Regions from separate parts of the Homo sapiens genome. Here region 2 is linked to region 1. Evidence: promoter capture Hi-C in 16 types of primary human blood cells and fetal thymus (Javierre and others, 2016). All regions are on one chromosome and are shown on one strand. The core of a region is centred on a gene start or on the middle of the fragment in contact, and the rest is flanking DNA. Distances in the headings are between cores, read along the strand shown.

Evidence for each region. Contacts are between HindIII fragments. The CHiCAGO score rates a contact against its expected background, and 5 or more counts as called.
Region 2: a fragment that was not itself captured here is called in contact with the fragment with the promoter of RAMAC in region 1 in 2 of 17 cell types (naive CD8 T cells and total CD8 T cells); the score reaches 6.8 in naive CD8 T cells.

What each region holds. Positions count from the first base shown.
Region 1 is chr15:82,983,140-82,988,068 of GRCh38, reverse strand. It overlaps RAMAC (RNA guanine-7 methyltransferase activating subunit), which reads right to left and starts at 1,859. Exons shown (of 4, transcript NM_031452.4): 1 at 1,700-1,859; 2 at 685-733. It also overlaps a transcript of HOMER2 not described here. The HindIII fragment of the contact is 1,767 bases long and covers 677-2,443 here.
Region 2 is chr15:82,259,587-82,264,515 of GRCh38, reverse strand. It overlaps EFL1 (elongation factor like GTPase 1), which reads left to right and starts at 1,782. Exons shown (of 20, transcript NM_024580.6): 1 at 1,782-1,902; 2 at 2,719-2,828. The coding sequence starts at 2,738. SAXO2 (stabilizer of axonemal microtubules 2) reads right to left here and starts at 1,698. Exons shown (of 4, transcript NM_001348699.2): 1 at 1,584-1,698. The coding sequence starts at 1,636. RefSeq lists enhancers at 1,478-1,547, 1,568-1,657 and a silencer at 3,666-3,852. The HindIII fragment of the contact is 2,763 bases long and covers 1-2,631 here.

The DNA.
Region 1 (4,929 bases), core at 610-3,109:
CACTGCGCCCAGCCTTTTTTTTTTTTTTTTTTTGAGACGGAGTTTCACTCTTGTTGCCCAGGCTAGAGTGCAATGGCGCGATCTCGGCTCACTGCAATCTCTGCCTCTCGAATTCAAGTGATTCTCCTGTCTCTGCCTCCCGAATAGCTGGGATTACAGGTGCACGCCCGCTCGCTAATTTTTGTATTTTTAGTAGAGACAGGGTTTCATCATGTTGGCCAGGCTGATCTTGAACTCCTGACCTCAGGTGATCTGCCTGCCTCAGCCTCCCAAAGTACTGGGATAACAGGCATAAGCCACCGCGCCCAGCCTGACACTCTTATCTTTCAGGCTATTGCTCTTAGTATGCTTTATCAAATACCAAATATCAGACTTTCAATGTGTCTGGGATTGGCAAACTATATCAAATTCTCAAATCCAAGGAATGAGTTTTAAATAAATTCAGCTAATTAAAAATCATGTCTAGAATTCTAGTGGGATCACAGAAATCACTAAAAAGATGACCCATACCTAATCCAGATGGGCAGTAAAAATCATAAGGCAAGGAAAAGGTGCTACTCCATTTTTATGTTCTCATATGTTCTCCCACGACTCCCCACCCATACTCATGTAAACAAATATCAACTGTATTATTACTGAGAACGAAATTTAAATAGAATGTTAATCGACCCAAGCTTTACTTACCCCAAAGGTTTGAGGCAGCTGTACTGCTTAATGTTTAGGTTGTTTAAATCTGTGGGAGGAAAAAAACAAACTTGACTTTATTTAAGGAAACTCTCAAAAGGTGTTTGTAGGGGAGGGTGGCGCATAAGAGTCTTATTCAAGGAAAGAATTGGAGTAAAAGTGCTCTAAGGCCAGGCGCGGTGGCTCACCTCTGTAATCCCAACACTTTGGGAGGCCGAGGCGGGCAGATCACGAAGTCAAGAGATCGAGACCAGCCTGGCTAACACGGTGAAACCTCGTCTCTCCTAAAAATAGAAAAAATTAGCCAGGCGTGGTGGCATGTGCCTGTAGTCCCAGCTACTCGGGAGGCTGAGGCAGGAGAATCGCTTGAACTTGGGAGGCGGAGATCGCGCCACTGCACTCCAGCCTGGGCGACAGAGCGAGACTCCGTCTCAAAAAAAAAACAAAAAACAAACCAAAAAAACGCTCTAAAGACTTCCAAAGCTAATATTCCAAAGAGGGAACTGGTTCTCAAGAGCAAGAAGCTACAAGATTTGTCCTCTGGGCCTTCAAAAGCAAAATAGTTCAAGTATGAATACAAACTTCATAAAGTATGTATGTTCTTTTAGGGTAAGCCTTTCAGATTTGTACTTGAATACTGCTAATTTATTCACCACAAATAAAACCACAAAGAACTTTGGCTGCGGGCGACTAACCCTGGAAATAACCAACCAGAATGGGGTTTCGCTGCCCTGGGAGGTGAGCCCGGGGAACAGACGAAGATGCAGACTGAAAACAACTGCGTTTTCCAGTCCGTCCTCAAGGCACATCACAGCTTGCTTACCAAGGTTCTGGCAGATTTGCTCCCTTCCGAAGCACCTTATACCTCCAGAAGTGAGGGAAATTATGGGCCGTGAGAAGTAAACGGGCTTCGGTCTAGCAAAGAGTACAGATCACCGCACAGGGGGAGGACACCTCGCTGGCCACCCAGCTCGGCCGCCCCGCTCCCTCCTCCCGGGCGTCCGGGGCGACTCACCCGCCAAGGGCTATGTCAATCCAGCTCAGGCCGAACCCCGCCGGCGAGACACTGAGAAGCCCAGGAGAGGTGGCCTCTGGTCCACTACACCGTGGAACTCCAGACCACTCCAGTTCTCCAATGTAACCGAGCGCCTTCCTCTAAAATCCGACAACCACCTGACTTCCGCTTCCGGCGGGCTAAAGTTGAGGGTGCCTGTCAAGTCTCGCGATAACTAAGGCTCTCCGTGTGGATCGCTTTGCAACAGATCGCTTCTTCAAATGCTGGCACAACGCCCAGAGCTCGATGAGGTGTGGGCAAGTAGCTGTCTAAAGGTGGATGATGCCCTCCATGCACTTTCAGCCTGCCTGGTGGCTGGGCAGTCGAAAACGTCGCCGTCTATTAAGCTCCTTTGATTGGGAGCAGGTGACGGGTAGAGACGGAAGTTCTGGGAATCACCGGAGAAGGGAGGGAAGGGCTCCTTCCGGCCGCCTGCTCCCGGAGTCTTCGTGGGGAACGTGAGGTGAGAGCAGGCGGTGAAGAGTAGACACGACTGATGACTTCAGGGATGCTACACCTTTCTCTCCTGCCTGGGCAAGCCTCGGTAGTAAGATTTCCGTAGTCCGTTTTGTATGTGGTTTTGCAGAAACATACCCCCTCTCTGCTCCAGCTTCAGTCGTCAGTATCCAGCTACTTCCAAGAGTCTTGCCCATGTCTTGTGGGATGTTCAGCAAATGTATAAACACTTAATATCCCGACAAAGCTTGGCCTCTTCCCTCCCAAATTACTTCCCAGGCTATGCACCCGTTTTTGTTAATACAACCAACTTGGAAACTTTGATGTCAGATTTGATGCCCTTTCTTGCCTTTCCATGCTCCAATCACTTGCCAAGTCCTGTCGATTGTACCCCTACAGTAATTCTTGCATCTTCTTACCCACTGCCCCCACCTAATCAACGTTCTCATTACCATCCCCTGCACGGTGTCAGTGCAGTACCTTTCTCATTGATGTCCTGCCTCTAGCATCACTCTGCTACTAGCCTATCTTACATATACCTGCTATAGGTGTAGCCATCTTCAAGCACCACCGTGATCCAAAATAGCTGATCCAATGGCTCTCTGTTGCCTGTAGATTAAAGGTCAAGTTTATTAACTTGGATTCAAAACTTTTTTTATTTTCTGCTGTTCCCCTTCCATTCTCCCTCAGTCAGTGGTAAACCAGACCCTGTGAAGTACGTCATGCATAAATTATTACATTTTTATAGATTGCTCATGTCCCTTGCATGAAATACCTGTCTCTCCCCCTCATCTCCAAATGTTGAAATTCTTTCCATTATTTAAAGCTTTAGAAAGTGACATCTCTACCTAGAAATAATTTTTCTTTCTATTGAGAGTCCATCATATTTCTGGAATTTCATGTATTTAGTTATTACCACTTTCTAACTTCGAACTAAAATTATTTACTTGCAAGTCTTTCCCCCTATTAAACTGTAAACAGGCCTTTATCTAATGCATTTCTACATTCTGGAGTGTATAACATTGTGCTTTTTTTGTTTGTTTGTTTGTTTGTTTCTTTGACACAGGGTCTCATTCTGTTGCCCAGGCTGGAGTGCAGTGACGTGGTCATGGCATACTGCAGCCTCGACTTCCTGGGCTCAGGCGATCCTCTCAGCTCAGCCTCCGGAGAGCTGGGACTACAGGTGCACACCACCACCCTGCTAATTTTTTGTATTTTTTGTAGAGATGGAATTTTGCAGTATTGCCCAGTCTGGTCTCGAACTCTGGGCTCAAGCAGTCCACCCACCTCAGCCTCCCAAAGGGCTGGGATTACAGGCCTGAGCCGTGGAGCCCAGCCCCACATTGTGCTTTTTCCATGACGTTAGCACTGAATAAATGTTTGTGGAATGAATGATAGAACTATGAATATTCCAAGTAATGTTTTAGAAACATTAACCTAGCAAAAGTATATAGGATAGTATGGATGAGGGAATAGGATAGTCTTGGTGTTGGGTAGTAAAGGTAAGAGGTGTAACAACCAAGGTTACAATAATTGAATAAAAGGCCGGGTGCGGTGGCTCACGCCTGTAATCCCAGCACTTTGGGAGGTCGAGGCGGGTGGATCATGAGGTCAGGAGATCAAGACCATCCTGGCTAACACGGTGAAACCCTGTCTCTACTAAGTATACATAAAATTAGCTGGGCGTGGTGGCCGGCGCCTGTAGTCCTAGCTACTCGGGAGGCTGAGGCAGGAGAATGGCGTGAACCCAGGAGGCGGAGCTTGCAGTGAGCAGAGATTGCGCCACTGCACTCCAGCCTGGGTGACAGAGCAAGACTCCGTCTCAAAAAAAAAAAAAAATAATAATAATAATTGAATAGTACTATTCTGGAGCTCCAGTAGTGCAATTGGTTAGCGCGCTATAGTGCGCTAAATAGTAAATAGTACTATACTTAGTTACTGAGTGGATTACGAGAGAAAAAGATTGGTAGAAATCAGGGAAGGAGCTGGGTGCGGTGGCTTACTCCTGTAATCCCTGCACTTTGAGAGGCCGAGGCAGGCGGATCACTTGAGGTCAGGAGTTCAAGACCAGCCTGACCAACATGGTGAAATCCTGTCTCTACTAAAAAATCAAAAAAATTAGCCGGGCGTGGTCAGGGGCGCCTGTAATCCCAGCTACTCGGGAAGCTGAGGCAGGGAGGATTGCTTGAACTTGGGAGGCAGAGGTTGCAGTGAGCCGAGATTGCACCACTGCCCTCCAGCCTGGGCGACAGAGTGAGACTCCATCTAAAAAAAAAAAGAAAGAAAAGAAAGAAATCAGGAAAGGCTCCAATTCTTTAAGCCTGGGAAATTGGGGCTGAAAAGGAATATCCATAAGGTAAAGTGGCTTTAAGGGAAAAATGAACTCAGAGCCCAAATACATTTGTAAAATTTGAAACACTGGTGAAATATTCAAGAGAAAATTTCCAGGGAGTTGTTAGAAATACAAGACTAAATCTCAGGAAAGAGAGGCTCTACCCAGATATGTAAATGTGTGAGTAATTCATGAAGAAACAATAGTTGAAATCACTGGTGTACAGTTGCTCCCCGACAGGACTGTTTGACTTAACGATTGTTGTACTTTACAATGGTACCATGTGCATTCAGTGGCAGGGTACTTTGAATACCTATACAAACATTCTGTTTTTCACTTTCCGTACAGTAGTCAATAAATTATATGAGATATTCAACATTTTATTATAAAATAAGCTTTGTGT
Region 2 (4,929 bases), core at 1-2,500, 720 kb after region 1:
AAGCTAATAGTATACAGTTATTTAAGAGAATGAGGGTGGTCTTTATGCATGATCATTGGAAGTTGGTGAGATTGTAAATAGTAAAAAACCGGATTGTAGAATAGTATGCTCAGAATATTCTCTTTTTTTGTTAAAAAAAAAAAAAAATCAATGCAGGCCAGGCGCAGTGGCTCACGCCTGTAATCCCAGCACTTTGGGAAGCCGAGGCAGGCAGATCATGAGGTCAGGAGATGGAGGCCAACATGGTGAAACCCCGTCTCTACTAAAAATACAAAAATTAGCTGGGTGTGGTCGCACGAGCCTGTAATCCCAGCTACTCAGAGAGGCTGAGGCAGGAGAATTGCTTGAACCCGGGAGGCGGAGATTGCAGTGAGCCGAGATTGCGCCACTGCACTCCAGCCTGGCAAGAGAGCCAGACTCTGTCTCAAAAAAAAAAAAAAAAAAAAATCAATGCATATGTAAAACAAGTCTTAAAGAACATTTGTTATCTGTGGAAGATAGAATTATGAAGGCGTTTTACAATATTATAGATATTTTTGCTTAGATTTTTATGATACTTCTTGTGTATTTATTGCATTGTCAAAAAATAAAAATAAACCCTTAAAAAGACAAAACTAACAACCACAGCCCAAAACAAACAAACAAGAAGTAAAATCACGCCATTCCAATGGTGGCCCTCAACATAATGAAGACTGAATTTCCTTACAGTTGAATGAGAAAGGAACTTGCGTTGAATATAAATTAGGAGAAAAGTAAAAATTTTCTCCTGCACACCAGTCTGAGGATTCATACACCCAAAGTTAATTTGTTGATATTTTAATCTATATATAATTATGAACTGTGTTTATTATGAGACTATTAAAAAAACTGCTTTCCATCAACATGTAGGTGTTTTCTTTGAATGGGATTACAAATACACCAGGGATTGACAACGTTCATATTTACTTAGCAAATAATGATCTAATCCCTGGGTCAATAGTGAAGCTGAGGAAGGAGAGGACTGTGTTTACAGGTGATGGAAGGTTGTTAGGCAGGACTCACAGTTGGATTCTAGATTTCAGGGTAGGGACTACTTACTGACTTTTCAGTCAGGCGGATCCCAAAGAACTGCTGCCTGGACGGGAATGGGAATATGGTCTGGCTGGGAGGACAGAAAGCTACAGATGAAAGAAAATGTGATATGGGTTGCAGACTCAGGGCCTTGAGCACTGTTCTTTCTCATCTTCGTGGTGGGGGATTATGGGGTGGAAATGCACTCTCCCAGTCGGATCACATCCCACTACTCACCAGCGTTATATCCCGTCGCGGCTTCACATATATTACTTACCTGGCCCGGGTGGCATTTTACTTTGCATCCTTGATTGGGAGTCTCAGGGGCTACGAACAAACGTTTTACCCCCGGGTAGCAGGCGGGTGAGGAGCGAGTATTCGCGGAGCGGGATAAGTGGGGATGTCGCTGCGCCCTCGTCCCTTCATCTCCGGGGGACGGCCACTCTCAGGGTTCCCGAGGAGCCGGCTCCGTGCACCTAGGCCCTAGGTCGGCTCCCAAGCCCGGGCCCGCCGCTACACCAGCCGTTTCTTACCCGCAGCTACAAATCTGACACAGACACCAGCTCCTCATACTCTTGGCTCCCATGCTTTCCTCCACCGCGCCTCAGCACTTGCAGCTTCTCCACTCCCACAGCGCCCGCCGTAGTCAAGGCAACAGAGGGATGCCCGGTGACAGACTCGGCGCCGGCTTCCGGCGGCGTCAGAGACGTGCGGGTGAAAGGTCGAGCGACAGCCGGCCCCGCCCCCTGGCGCGCGGGCGTGTCGGACCCGCAGAGCTCTCGGACTTTCGGAAGCTCTCGGTGTGGGTGCGACCCGAGAGAAGGAGCGGGGCTGGTGGGGCTGCTGCAGCCGGTGAGTGTGGGCTGGCGCTGGGGGCTGGAACCTCCTAGGCCAGCCTTTGGGCGGTGCCGGAGGAACCCGCTCGCTGCGGCTCTGAGGCGGGAACAGGGGCTGGGGCCGAGCGCGGGCTGGGAGCTTCGGTCCCCGGAGTGCCGCTTCCCGTCTGGGGCCGGGGCGGTCGCCTGTCTGTGTGGACCCAGGATCCTCAAAGAGAACGAATCTGGGACCCTGCAGAAATGAAGGGCATGTAGTGTAGAGGTTTTTCCTTTTTATTTAGAAAGGAATGAAAGACCGGCAGTGCACCTGCTTGGATAATAAGCACGTGACCCAAAACTTTGTTCGGGCTCCATGGGCAGGAATAAAGCTGGGTATTTGACCTCGCGCGAGGACGAGCGAGAATGTCAGAATGAGGGACTTGGGGGAAGACTGAAGAGAGAAAGGGAGCATCTTCTTCAGCATTTTCTCTCCCTCCTGGATGCAACCCTTCCTGTACGTGGTCATTGGCCTGGAGATGTTTACTGGAGTACTCCTCCACCGGCAGGGTTACTGGTGTCACTGTGCACCCAGTCCCCTCGAGCTGCGTGATTCATCGCAGCCTTTGGATCCGGAAGGATGAGCAAACTCCTTAAGTGTAATCGTGGTAGGATACTGACTTTAGTGCTCGAACTGGACTTAGGCCTTGGTGGTCTATCTCATCAATAAACATTCACTGGGTTCTTGGTTTAAGGGGTTTGAGAAGCTTGCCACCTCCCAGCGTTTATTATTATTTTTTTCTTTTGCCCCGACCTTTAGCCTCTGGGCCATTTGTAATACATATTTAATTTTTAGTCACAGGAAATAAGTAATCATGGTGCTCAACAGTTTGGATAAGATGATTCAACTCCAGAAAAACACTGCCAACATCAGGAATATTTGTGTTTTGGCTCATGTTGACCATGGTAAGAATACTTTTTAAATGGCTTATTTTGATAAATAAGGGAGATGTGTCTCTGTATGTCTCAGTGGAGTGAAGCTGTGGACAGCTGAGAGTGATGTTTGCTAAGAAGCAAGTCTTCTTTCTTTAAAAGTTTTGTGTGATGTTAGGGAAGCCTGCTTTGCTATAAAGCATTTGAAATGAACACGGTTACCTAGTGAGTAGCATTCTTCTATATATTATGTCATGTTGTTTTTTAAAGCAGAACTTGAATTTTTTGTTTTTGAAATGGCTTTACATATAAAATGTCTGTAGTCTTGACATAATGTCCTTAGAGTCTGTGGTATGTGATCCTATTTAATTCATCAGATATTTATCAAACGTCTGTTAAGTTCAAGATATTTTGCTTAGTATGTCTGAAGGTGGAGATTTATGAGTAGGGCACTAGCCCAGGGGAGGTTTTAACGGGGAGCAGAGCAAAATGAGACAAACAAGAGAAAAAAGTAGACTCTAAGGTTGGGAGAACTAGAGGATTAGGAAGTGAGGGGTTAGGAAAAGACCTCACAACATAATTAGTATTAGAGATGACACTTGAAGGGGGCTCAAGATGACAAATGGAGATAATCATTACAGGTGGGAATGTGTCATCAAGGGGAGAGGGAAATATATGTGGTCAAAGCCCAGTATATGGGAAAGGCAGAGATAGCTAACCCATGGTATGTTCTTCTGACAGATACTGCTGTAACTCCATAGCGCTCCTTCATGCTAAGCCTCCTCTTGATTTCAAACCTCTTGGTAGTTTAGGTAACCACAGCAAAGTGATTGGGATGGGCATATGAAATAAAACATATTTACCATCCTGAAGATGAAGGACCAGTTGGCGAGGTGAAGAAGCAGGCTGAGTCATATCTCATAGAGCTGCTCATGCCAGCTAGGAACTGGGATAAGAGTTGAGTGCTCCAGCTCTGGAGTTAGACAACCTAAGTTCAGATCTCCATTTTCAAGTTACATACCTTGCCTTTTTGAGCTTCAATATACAGCATCTGTAAAACAGGATGAAAACTATACCTGCTTTATAGGCTATAGGATTAAATGTGATAATAATGAGAGGGAAGGTAAACGCTTCACCATGAAAACGATCATTAATGTCTACTATTAGGCAGTAGGGAGCCTTTGGGGGAAAACATGGAGCAGGAATGATGTAATCAAATAAAACATGAGAAAGATTAGATTGGTAGACATGCTTAGGATGGATCCAAAGTCAGAGATTAGGTGGCTGTTGTCATTGATAGAAGAGCTGAAGTAATGTGAGTATGGAAACTGACAGAAAGACAGATAGTGGATCACTTACAAGTGAAGCCAGCTGTGAATGAGTTTTAGTACAAATCCAGTGAGTAACCCCTGCCTCCATGAGTTTTTATAATTTTACTGCTCACATTTTGAGAATGTGAAGGCTGATAAAAGGGTTTTTTTTTTCTTTATGAATTTATTCAAGTGGAAAGTTAGTGGGGTGTAACAAATTACTTTAAATGTATTGTTTAAAATTATGTTAAGCTGCTACTATCCTAAAAAACCTGGGATTCATCCATTCAACAAGTATTTTCTGAAGGTCTTCTATATGACAAGCGTTGTTCTGGTCCTAGGGATACTGCTGTGAATAAAGCAAAGTTCCTGCTTGCTTGATAATTATTTTCTAGGGAGGTATATACTTGGTGTACTTAGAATAAATTCAGCTTTACTGGGTAGCAGGAAAGTGATGCTCTAGGATTATATGCTAATACATATTTACATTGCAGACAGATAGCAGTGTTAAATATCTTCAGTTCTCCTACTCATTGGTCTCTGGTTTGAACAATACAGAGATTCCATAGCTTTGCTGAAGTTCCTAAAGTGCAATAAAGACTTGTCTTGAAGGAAAAAAACCCTCCTTTGCTTACTCCAACCCAGTTGTAGTAATTATGCATACCCCTGACATTCTTTACACAGAATCACCTGTTTATATCACATAAAATCTCATAGACTTTAGTTGTATGTAGTCTGCTTAATAAAAGTAACTATAAATATATTCGAAGATTCTTTTGCTTTAAAGTAGATTCCTAGGTTTAGATTTGGATACTAGGTTTCAT